2 separate regions of the Homo sapiens genome follow, and region 1 is linked to region 2. The links are contacts of gene promoters, found by promoter capture Hi-C in blood cells and fetal thymus (Javierre and others, 2016). All regions are on one chromosome and are shown on one strand. The core of a region is centred on a gene start or on the middle of the fragment in contact, and the rest is flanking DNA. Distances in the headings are between cores, read along the strand shown. Region 1 holds the start of BIVM-ERCC5 (BIVM-ERCC5 readthrough). Region 2 holds the start of TEX30 (testis expressed 30).

Region 1 (6,429 bases), core at 1,654-4,153, 35 kb after region 2:
ATTATCATTATTACAAAAAGAAACTCCATCACCCCCAAACCCCAAGCCCTAGGAAACCATGAATCTACTTTCTGTCTGCATAGATTTGCCTGTTCTGGACATGTTATATAAATAGAATAATACACTATCTGGTCCTTTGTGACGATCTTCTTTTACTCACTATAATGTTTTCGGGGTTCATCCATGTTGTAGCATGGGTCAGTACTTCATTTCTTTTTATTGCCAAATAATATTCCATTGTATGGATATACCACATTTTATTTATACATTCCTCAGTTGGTGGACATTTGGGTTGTTTCCATTTTTTGGCCATTATGAATAATGCTGCTATTAACATTTGTGTGAAGATGTATTTTCATCTGTCACGGATATATACCTTGGCATGAAATTGCTGGACCATATGGTAACTCTGTTTAATTGTTGGAAGAACTGTTTTCCAAAGCAACTGGACCATTTTACATTTCCATTAGCAATGTATGAGGGTTATGATTTCTCCACGTCCTCACCAACATTTTTGATTATAGCCATTCTAGCGTGTGTGAGGTGTTAATCTCATTGTGGTTTTGATTTGTATTTCCATGATGGCTAATGATACTGAGCATCTTTTCATGTGCTTATTGGCCATTTATTTTTATTTTTGATACAGTCTCGCTCTGTTGCCCAGGCTAGAGTGTAGTGGCGCGATCTCGGCTCACTGCAACCTCTACCTCCCAGGTTCAAGTGAGTCTTATGTCTCAGCCTCCTGAGTAGCTGGGACTACAGGCATGTGCCACCATGCCTGGCTAATTTTTGTATTTTTAGAAGGGACGGGGTTTCACCATGTTGGCCAGGCTGGTCTCGAACTCCTGACCCCAAGTGATCCACCTGCCTTGGCCTCCCAAAGTGCTGGATTACAGGTGTGAGTGACTGCGCCTGGCCTTATTGGCAATTTCTGTACTGATTTTGGAGAAGACACTATTCAGATACTTTGCCCATTTTTAAAAATTGGGCTATTTGCTGGCCGGGCATGGTGGCTCACATCTGTAATTCCAGCACTTTGGGAGGCAGAGGTGGGCAGATCACTTGAGGTCGGGATTTTGAGACCAGCCTGACCAAGATGGAGAAACCCCATCTCTACTAAAAATACAAAATTAGCCGGGCGTGGTGGCGCATGCCTGTAATCCCAGCTACTTGGGAGGCTGAGGCAGGAGAATCACTTGAACCCGGGAGGCGGAGGTTGCGGTGAGCCGAGATTGTGCCATTGCACTCCAGCCTGGGCAACAAGAGTGAAACTCCATCTCAAAAAAAAAAAAATTGGGCTATTTGCTTTTTAATTATTTTTTAATTATTTGAAAATAATTTAATGCATATTTTAGACTAATTTAAAAAATAAGATAGTGATTGTGACTCCAGTCATATAGTAGTTGTAAAATTAATATAGAATGAAGGCATATGTATGCATAAAACTTGCTATGCTTTTTAGTGGCTCTTTGTGTATCTGGTGGATTGTTGATCATTCTTTTTCCTTCCTCTTAGGAGCTCATTTTGCAGCTCTCAAGCTTTTATAGCATGCTGTAAACAATTGTCAAAGTTGTTTATCAAGAAACAGATAGAGTTGCAACTTGTTTCTAGTAATAGAAACTTTTACACTGCATTCAATGCCTAACGTTGCAGAAACAGAAAGGTCAAATGATTCTGGAAATGGTGAGCACAAATCTGAGAGAAAGTCACCTGAAGAGAATCTACAAGGTGCTGTAAAATCTTTCTGCACAAGTGCCTCAGGAGCACCCTTGGGTCCCAAAGGAGATGGTCATTATCCATGGAGTTGTCCAGTGACTCATACACGGGAAAAAATTTATGCCATCTGTTCGGACTATGCCTTTCTCAACCAGGCGACCTCAATCTATAAAACTCCAAATCCATCCCGCTCTCCTTGCCTCCCTGATAGTACCTCTTTATCTGCTGGAAATAATTCATCAAGATACATTGGTATCCCGACTAGTACATCGGAAATTATCTACAATGAAGAAAATAGCTTGGAAAACTTATCCAACAGCCTGGGCAAGCTACCTCTCGCATGGGAAATTGATAAATCTGAATTTGATGGGGTGACCACAAATTCGAAACACAAATCAGGTAAGGAGGGAGCCATGAAGTTCATATGTGAAAATAATGAGAAAACAAACACTATGTCTTGTTTAATCTTGCCATTACACATAGTTTCCTTGTATAATACTAGATAAGGAACATGGCTATCATCTTGTCTGTCAATGTAGTTTTAGGAAAGTAACCTTGACGTAGGGCATGTAGTTCATTGCGGGGCTTCCACTGGAAACTTCAAGCATAAGCTTTGTATCAAATATTTTGAGAGATTTGAAAATCTAATAATGTAAAATATTATAAACAGATGGTAGCTTAGAAAATGAAATGTTAATAACATGGCTAGAATAACTTACTACTGTTTCATAGTTTTATAGGCACATGAAGTTGTATTTCCTGACCAAACATCTTTTTTTCCTGCTATATAATGTTTTAGCTTTTTTTGTTGTTAAAATTTTTTAGGCACCCAGCAAAGCCTCCATGTACCACCAAGTGGGTTGTGTACTGCTCAATTTAAGAGGATGCTGTTTACCGAGGTTGTGCATAACTTTCACAGTTGCAATGGGGTGGTCCTATGGCAGATAGAAATACTTTACACTTCTTTCTTTTGAATTCAAAGTAATACAGGAATTTTATGAGGCAGGTACTGTTAGCCCCATTTGTAGGTGAAGAAATTGAGGCTTAGAAGGGATAAATCTCTAGACCGAAGTTGCAGAGTTAATAAGAGGAGGTCAAACTAGGATTTGTATTTACTTCTAGTCTTCTCTGATGATTTTATAAAACCTTAATGCTTCTGCTTGTTTATCTGCAAAATCAATTTGTTTCATAGAATTTTAGGTAAATTTGTAATTCTTAAGGGTAGGAGGGGGATTTTGCTTTTTTTGTCTAAATTTGTAGGTAATGAGTCTGCAATTTTCTTTTTGTCTAATGCCTTTGGCCAGTTTTGGAATTAGGGCTATGCAAATCTTCTAAGAAAAGTTGGGAAGTGTTTTTTCCTCCTGTTTTCTGAGGATTTTCAGAGAGATATTAAAATCTGTATTTATAATTATGGAGTTGTCTTGATTTCTGTTAATTTCTGACAAATTTTAATTTGTCCATGTCATTTAAGTTGTCAAATTTGGGGGCTTAAAGTTAATGTTATCCCTCTAACATCTAAGGAATCTTTGTTGACAACTCCTTTTGCATCCTAATACTGGTAATTAATTTATTTTCTCTATTTTTTTTAAAACTGATCAATCTAGCTAGGAGTTTATCAATTTTGTTAATCTTTTCAAATAACTAGCTTTTGTTAATTTTCTCAATTGTTTGTTTTCTATTTCATTGGTTTCTGCTCTTTATTATTTGCTTCCTCTGACTTACTTTGGGTTTATTTTGTTCTTCATTTTCTGACTTCTTAAGATGGAAGCTTAGATCATTGATTTTAGACTTTTCTACCATAAGCATAGAATACTCCAAATTGCTAAGTACTGCTTTAGCTGCAGCTCACAAATTTTGATATGCTTATTATTATTACTTAATTGGAAATATTTTCTAATTTCCTTTGCAATTTATTCTTTGATACATGTATTACTTAGATGTATGCTGTTTAATTTCTAGATATTAATAGTTTTTCTAAATATTGATTTCTAGTTTAGTTCCATTGTGGACAGAGGGCATATGCTCTCAGTCTTTTTAAATTTACTGAGACTTGTTTTATGACCCAACATATGGTCTATCTTGGTGAATGTGCCATGTGCACTTGAAAAGAATGTGCATTCTGCAGTCATTGGGAGTATCTATAAATATTAATTATGTCGAAGTGTTTGAAAGTGTCATTCACATCTTTTGTGTCTCCGCTTAACTTGTGTCTTGTTCTATCAATTACCAAAAGAAGGGTGTTAAAAATCTTCAACTATGATTGTGAAGTTGTCTTTTCTCCATTTAATTTCTTTTTTAAAAACTAATACATGTCTAATAACAGAAAATTTACTGTCTTAACCATTTTTACGTGTACAGTTTAGTGGCATTAAGTACATTTACGTTGTTGTGCAACCATCATCACTATTCATCTCCAAATCTCTTTCCTTTTCTTTTCTTTCTTTTTTTTTTTTTTCTGAGACAGAGTCTCGCTCTGTCGCCCAGGCTGGAGTGCAGTGGCGCGATCTCGGCTCACTGCAAGCTCCGCCTCCCGGGTTCACACCATTCTCCTGCCTCAGCCTCCCGAGTACCTGGGACTACAGGCGCCTGTCACCGTGCCCGGCTACTTTTTTGTATTTTTAGTAGGGTCGGGGTTTCACCGTGGTCTCGACCTCCTGACCTCGTGATCCGCCCGCCTCGGCCTCCCAAAGTGCTGGGATTACAGGCGTGAGCCACCCCGCCCAGCCCTTCTTTTCATCTTACAAAATAAACTTTGTACCCATTAAACAATAAATCCTCATTCCTTCTCCTCACAGTCCCTGGAAACCACAATTTTACTTTTTGTCACTGTGAATTTGACTATTCTAGGTACCTTATGTAAGTGAAATCATATAGTATTTGTCTTTTTATGACTGGTTTATTTATAGCCACCCCTGCTCTCTTCTGGGTGCTATTTGCTTTGGAATACTTATTTCCATCCTTTTACTTTCAGCCTATTTGTATCTCTAGATCTAAAGTGAGTGTTTCAGAGACAGCATATAGTTAGCTAATTTTTTCTGTTTCTGTTTTTGTGTGTGAACCCACGTATACAAAAACATATTTTTAAAAAAATGCATTCTGCCAGTCTCTATGTTTTGAGTGGAGAATTTAATCCATTTACATTTGAAGTAATCACTGATAAGGAGAGACTTGTCATTTTAGTACTTGTTATTTATATGTAAACACTCTGTTCCTATACTGCTTCGTCCACACTTAACTTTCAGTTATTGATGTTATCAAATTACAAATTTATATATTGTGTGTCTGAAAACATAAACTAATAATTTTTATGTATTAATCTCTTAAATAATGTGGAAAACAAAATGTGGAGTTACAAACCAAAGTTATTATAATAATAGCTTTTTTATTTTTATTTTTTATTTTGAAATAGGGTCTTGCTCTCTTGCCCAGGCTGGAGTGCAGTGGCACGACCATGGCTTACTGCAGCCTTGACCTCAGGCTTAAGCAATCCTCCCACTTCAGCCTTCTGAGTAGCTGGGACTACAGGTGCACATCACCACGACTGGCTAATTTTTAATATTTTTTTGTAGAGATAGAGTCTCACTATGTTGCCAGGGGTGGTCTTGAACTCCTGGGCTCAAGCAATCCTCCTGCCTCGGCCTTCCAAAGTGCTGGGAATACAGGCATGAGCCACTGCTCCTGGCCTACTACTAGCTTTTAAGCTAATAATAATTTCTCAAAAATGTATTAGTCTCATAAATCATATAGAATACAAAAACTGGAGTTGCAAACTAACAAAATAACACTGGCTTTTATAATTGTTCGTGTATTACCTTCACTGAGGTAAATTTATTTCTTCCTATGGCTTTGAGGTACTAGCTAATGTCCTTTCATTTCAACCAGCAGGAATCCTTTTAGCATTCCTTACAGGGCAAGTCTAGTGGTAATAAACTCCTTCAGTTTTTGTTTGTCTGGGAATGTCTGAGTTTCTTCTTCACTTTTGAAGGACAGTTTTGCTGGATTTAGAATTCTTGTTTGAATTTTTTTTTTATTTCAGCACTTTGAATATATCAGCCCACTTCCTTCTGGCTTCCAAAGTTTCTGATGAGAAATCTGTTGATATTCTTATTAACAGTCCATTGTATGTGATGAGTTGCTTCTCTTGTGTTGCTTTTAAGAGTCTTTGTCTTTTTGCAATTTTTAAATTTTTTATTTGATACGGAGTTTTGTTCTTGTTGCCCAGGTTGGAGTGCAATGGCACGATCTTGGCTCACCACAACCTCCACCTTCTGGGTTCAAGCAATTCTCCTGCCTCAGCCTCCCAAGTAGCTGGGATTACAGGCGTGCGCCACCATGCCTGGCTAATTTTGTATTTTTAGTAGAGACGGAGTTTCTCCATGTTGGTCAGGCTGGTCTTGAACTCCTGACCTCAGGTCATCCGCCTGCCTCAGCCTCCCAAAGTGCTGGGATTACAGGCGTGAGCCACCGTGCCCAGCCTTGCAATTTTATTATAACATATATTGGTGTGGGTCTTTCTAAGTTCATCCTATTTGGAATTTGTTGAGTTTCTTGGATGTTTATATTCATGTTTTTTAAATCAAATTTGGAAAGTTTTTAGGCATTATTTGTTTGGATAATCTCCTACCCCTTTTTCAGTGTCTTCTCCTTCTGGAACTTCTGCAATGTATAGGTTGGTCCACTCGATGGTGTCCCCAGGTCCCTTAAGGTCTGTTT
Region 2 (5,969 bases), core at 1,895-4,394:
CATGGCAAACTTCCAGAAGCCCTTTTGAACTTTCACCCTCAGCCATGAGAAAAACATGCTCTAGGTGGTTTTGCATTTTCAGCCTGGGTCTCAAAATGAAGACACACGGAACAGAACTGAACCCAAAACTGAAGTCTGGAGTCCAGACTAGTCTAACCAACATCTGACCAACAGCTGATCTGAAGATCCATGAGCATAAAATGTAAGCCACTGAAATTTTGGGGTTGTTATGCAGCATTCCTTCCTATGTTAAGAGCTCTTGTATTGTTTAAGACATTACCAACATCAGGATCTCCATTACTCACCCATTTTTCCCATTAACATTTATTTATTCATTCATTCAATAGGTAACAATAACATGGTTTAAAGTTCAAAAGGTACCAAGAATATGTAGTGAAAAAGTCTCACTCATTCCACTCTTGACTTGACATCAGATTCCCCTCTCCAAAGGTAACCAATATTATCTGCTTCTTACTTATCCTTCCACATAGCACTGTACTTATTTTCACACGATGTAAGTGTATTTATAAGATAAATTCCTGGGGAAGGAATCGCTGTGTCAAAGGGTTTGTTCATAATTTTTTACAGAATTTTTTCATAGAACTTCCCAAGGTGAATACATTTCATTTTTGAATAGGTATCATGTGCACACGGTACATTAAAAAAATGTAAACAGAAGTCAAAGTATTTGTTCATAATTTACAGAATATGTTTTTCATAGATCTTCCTGAGGTGAAGAATACATTTCATTTTTGAATAGGTATCGTGTGTACATGGTACATTTTAAAAGACAATGTAAACAGAAGTTTCCACACACTCTTCCCCCAACCACCAAGTTCCTTTCACTTCCTAGAAACCACCATAAGCAACTTATTATGTACCTTTCCCCATCTGTGTGTGTGAGCGTGTAGAATTCTCTTATTTCAGCCTGGAGAGCATTAGTCTGATCTGACTGCAAAAGTTTTGGAAGTTGAGTGAGACAAAGGAGATGAAAGACTTCAAGCTTCAGTGTCCCTATCTTCATACATGCAGCCCCACAATTATGCCTGGGTTTCTCAGTTCAAAGATCCTCTGTTTTACTTTCTCAAGAGAATAAGCCTCCATCCAGTCTTCTAACAAGGGGAAAGGCAGTCACCCAACAGGTGAAATGGGGAAGGGGATCTGGATATCCAATTGCTTCTCAGATTTCACCTAAATCATCTTTCTTTAAGCTCCTTACACCCACCTTCTGCACCACACCACCTTCATTCCCAGTACCACCGCTGTCCAGTGCTGCCAGTTTCCGTGCAGTTTGAAGATTCTGTGGTTAATACAGGGTTTGCTAAGCCATACATGTTTTGGAGCCCGCTATTTGATTGCCAGCGTTTCCTTTCCTATTCTCCCATTGCTGGAGGTTCATGTTTGTTTTTAAATAGCCTTAATGTAAGTTTAGTGAAACTTCATGAAGGAGTAAATTTAGATGCATGTAAACAACCACTATCTTAATTTAGAATGCTTCCCTATTTTTTTTTTTTTTGAGACAGGTTCTCGCTCCGGCGGACAGGCCGGAAAATTGAGTGGCGCAATCATAAGCTCACTGAATCCTCGAACTCCTGAGCTCAAGCGATCCTCTCGCCTCAGCCTCTTGAGTAGGTGGGACTACAGACGCTCACCACCACGCCCGCTTATTATTTTTAAATGTTTTTGTAGAGACGAGGGTCTCCCTATGTTTCGCAGGCTGGTCTTGAACTCCCGGGCTCAAGCGATACCCCCTGCCTTGGCCTCCCAAACCGTTGGGATCCCAAGGCGTTTGCCACCTCTCCCGGTCTGCTTTACTTCTTTTCAGACTTCACGATGCACAGTGTGTTCTTCACGGCAGCTGCACACATGCTGGTTTTCTTCAGAAACACGGAAAATGCCCCATAATGCAATCCCCAAGCAACCTGCTCTAGGTCATCTGGGTTTGTTTTTTTGAGACAGAGTCTTGCTCTGTCCCCCAGGCAGGAGTGCAGCGGCGCGATCTCGGCTCACTGCAGCCTCTGCCTCCCGGGTTCAAGAGATTCTCCAGCCTCAGCCTCCCGAGTAGCTGAGATTACAGGCGTCCGCCACCGCGCCCAGCTAATTTTAGTAGAGACGGGGTTTCACCATGTTGGCCAGGCTGGTTTTGAACTCCTGACCTCAGGTGATCCACCCGCCTCGGCCTCCCATGGTGCTGGGGTCAGGCGTGAGCCACCGTGCCAGGCCACTGTCGTCTGGGTTTTCATCTCTGGCTTCAGGTTCAGAGAGGGCAGGGTTTGAAGCCTGGCCCGGCCTCAGTGCCCTCAATGGCGATGGTGAAGATGACCGGCTAGAGGTGCTGCGCCCACGAAACGCCAGCTCTAGTGGCGTCCGGAGCGCCGGCTCCACCGGCTAGGCGGTCGGCGGAGTTCTAGGACGACAACTACTCACAAGGGCTGGGCGATCACCTCCCACGCCACGGGACGGAGACGCCACAGCCCCTTCAACTTTCAGTTACAAACGTTCGTGCCCTGTTACGTCCACAGCATTAAGCTGGCTGTCGTGGGGCAAACAAAAACGTTGAGTCCGAGTCTTACGGGGGGTCGGGTCAACAACCCCAGCAAACATGGAGAGAAAATTCAAAGCGGGTCTCACGGGCGTGCGGGGCTCGGCGGCGCTCGGGGCACGGGATCCGTTCTCTCCGCAAATGCGCGCTGCCGGGGCTGCGCCGCGGGCTGCCCCGGTCGACCCCTCTCAACTCCGAGGCTACTTCGAGCCAGTCACCCGGGACTGGCTGACGTGGTCCAGGTTGGCCCCGTCCGGCTCTCCCCGCCCGTACCAACCCCACATTCCGCCCTCCTACCCGGCAAAGCGGACGAAGCCCCCACCGGCTGGTGCCCGCGGGCACCGAACTTAGCGGAACGCCTCCCGGCTCGGACCAGACGCCCCTGAGGAGTGACGCCCGCGAGCCTCAAACGTCTCAGGCGGGCCTGCCGGGTGCTCTCCCCGTCTCCCAGGAAGCCGCCCGTCAGCCGGCGGCGCCAACCGCCACCGCCGCACTTACCCGGGAAGGCAAAAGTGGCCGCGGGCACCCAACCGCCGTCACTCCCTTCAGGGAGCTGACTAGCGCGCTCGAAGCGACCGCCTCGCCTGCCCCGCCACAGCGTTCGGCTACGACGCACGCGCGCGCAGGCCACGCCCCCCGGGTGCGCGGGCCGGGCCGCAGAGCACGCCGGGAGCGTGGGTCTCCCAGCCCGCCACATCCCAGGGCTGTACGCGCGGACTAGCGGAGCTAGGGGAAGGTGCCAGGGTGGCCGCCGCCTCAGTAGCACGCGGACGGCTGGAAAGTCAGCCCCCGTTTCCGCCTCACCCAGGATTGCTCCACTCGGGGCCTTTCCGCATCCCAGCCACCACTCCATTCCGAGGCGCGATCAGCTCTGACCAGTCTTCCTCACACCCATAGTCGATTCGTTACTCCCGTTAAGGTCAAACGCTGACAGAAACCAGCCGCTTCGCACACTTCTACATGGGGTCAAGCCCCCTGTTATCTTTGCGGGGATGATTGTAACAATCACTTAAATGGTCGCTTCGTACCATCTTGCCCCCGCCTGGGCCTTGTCGGCGACGCCGCAGCCACGTGGATGCTGTGGAAGCCTGTCCCCTGGATCTTCCAAAGGCTCCGCGCTCATTGCCACAGCCAGCGGCCGGCAGTGGCCTAGGCTGTTGCACGCGATCGGTCCCCCACATCTCCCCTCTCCATCTGGCTCCTTTCCCTGGAAGCCCAGGGCAGCCCACACTTCGCTGTCCTCACCCCCACTCACCAGGCGGGACCCCACGACGACCGGCTTTTGTCCTGGCTGCTCCCTCCCAGCGTGGGCCGCGTCTCCTCGGGGTCGACAGGGCGCGTGGTTTTCACAGCGAGGCCTCCCCTGATCACCTCCCCGCTCTTCCTGTCCTTCCCCGGTCACCTCACGAGCTATGGATGTATCTGTGTCTCCTCACTGCGCTATAAGCTCCCAGGTGAAGAAAGGGTTGCTTTTTGTAAATTTTTGTTTTAACCGTGAACCTCTTGTGTATGAATAATGCTCAGAAAAAAAAAAATTTCTTAAATGAATGAATCTTCCCCAAGCCCAGTGCAGTTGGCACCTGCCCTCTTTTCTGTCACGGTACATACAAGGAAATACATTCCACAAAACCACATAGTCGCTGTCATTTATCACAAGTGTTTCCCCAAATTACAAAGTCTTAATACTTCTTTGTCTCCTAATTTTTTAGCTGTGTTTTTAAAAAACATTTCTTTACATGCCATAAAATTCACTCATTTGAAGTGTACCATTCAATCATTTTCAGTAATTTTAAAACCATTTGCAACCATCACTATAATTTAAGAACATTTCCATTATCCCCCTGAAAAGTATTTGCACAGTTATAGTTGAGGTAGGAGATCAGCAGGACTTTCCAAGCACTGATCACCACCTGCTGAGCAAAACAGGATCTGGTCAGAACAGGATGCCCTAAAAAAACGGCCAAAACTGCCCTAAAGAAACAGGCCCAAGCCAGCTAAAACCAGGATGGTGACCAAAGTGACCTCTAGTGCCCTCACTGCTCATTATACACTAATTATAATACATGAACATGCTACAACACTTCCACCAGCACTCTGACAGTTTACGAATGCCATGGCAATGCCCAGACCTTACCTTATATGGTTTAAAAACGGAAGAATTCTCAGTTCCGGGGAACTCCCCACCCCTTTTCTAGAAAATTCGTGAATAACCCACCCCTTATTTAGCGTACGATGAAGGAGTAGGTATAAATATAGCTAGCCAGTGGCCGGGTGCCCTGGCGCATGCCTGTAATCCCAGCACTTTGGGAGACCAAGGCGGGTGGATCACCTGAGGTCAGGAGTTGGAGACCAGCCTGGCCAACACGGTGAAACCCGGCATCTACCAAAAACACAAAAATTACTCAGGCGTAGTGGCAGGCACCTGTAGTCCCAGCTACTCGGGAGCTGAGGCAGGAGAATTGCTTGAACCCTGGAGGCAGAGGTTGCAAAGCCGAGAAGAGCGCACCACTGCACTCCAGGCTGGGCAACAGAGCGAGACTCCGTCTCTCTCTCTCTCTCTCTCTATATATATATATATATACATACACACACACACATATACATATGTGTATATATACACACATATAATATATATCCGTACTATATATAGTATAAATACTATGTATACATATATAGTATAAATATTATATATAGTATTTATGTGTGTATGTATATACTATATACATATAGTCATATAGTATAAATACTATATACATATAGTCATATAGTATAAATACTATATATGTATATATGTGTATATATACACATATGTATATATAACATGTATATGTTTATATACGTATGTATATATTATATGTATGTATATATTATATATGTGTATATATGTGTGTATATACATATATATGTATATACACACATATGTATGTATATACATATATATGTATATGTAGATACATATATATGATATGTATGTATATACATATATATGTATATGTAGATACATATATATATATAGCTAGCCAGCAATCCATGAGTGTTACTCTGCCTGTGGGGTAGCCCTGCTCAGTTTACCAGAAGCAATTTTCCTGTGCTTTGTTGCTCTAATGTACTTGCTTTGCTTTCATTTTACTGTCAGTTTGCTCTTGAATCCTTTCCTGTGCAAAGTCAAGAACCCTCTCAGGCTGAGCTCCAATTTTGGGATTCACTGGCATTACAGCCATTCTCTGTTCCTACCCCTAACCCCGGGCAACCACTAACATACTTTCTGTCTCTCTGGATTTGCCTTTTCTGGACAGTTCATATAAATGGAGTCCTACACTGTATGGTCGTATGCCTCTAGCCTCTTGCACTTAGGATAATGTTTTCAAGGTTTATCCATGCTGTGACATGCATCAGAACTTTGCACCTTGTTACAACTCATATATTT

Evidence for each region. The method cuts DNA at HindIII sites, captures the fragments that hold promoters and counts their contacts. A CHiCAGO score of 5 or more calls a contact.
Region 1: a fragment that was not itself captured here is called in contact with the fragment with the promoter of TEX30 in region 2 in 1 of 17 cell types (fetal thymus); the score reaches 5.4 in fetal thymus.

What each region holds. Positions count from the first base shown.
Region 1 is chr13:102,805,631-102,812,059 of GRCh38, forward strand. It overlaps BIVM (basic, immunoglobulin-like variable motif containing), which reads left to right. Exons shown (of 11, transcript NM_017693.4): 3 at 1,516-2,115. The coding sequence starts at 1,638. BIVM-ERCC5 (BIVM-ERCC5 readthrough) reads left to right here and starts at 1,516. Exons shown (of 23, transcript NM_001204425.2): 1 at 1,516-2,115. The coding sequence starts at 1,638. The HindIII fragment of the contact is 1,157 bases long and covers 2,326-3,482 here.
Region 2 is chr13:102,770,642-102,776,610 of GRCh38, forward strand. TEX30 (testis expressed 30) reads right to left here and starts at 3,145. Exons shown (of 6, transcript NM_138779.5): 1 at 3,041-3,145. RefSeq lists enhancers at 2,900-3,577, 3,578-4,255 and a silencer at 2,978-3,317. The HindIII fragment of the contact is 5,388 bases long and covers 1,002-5,969 here.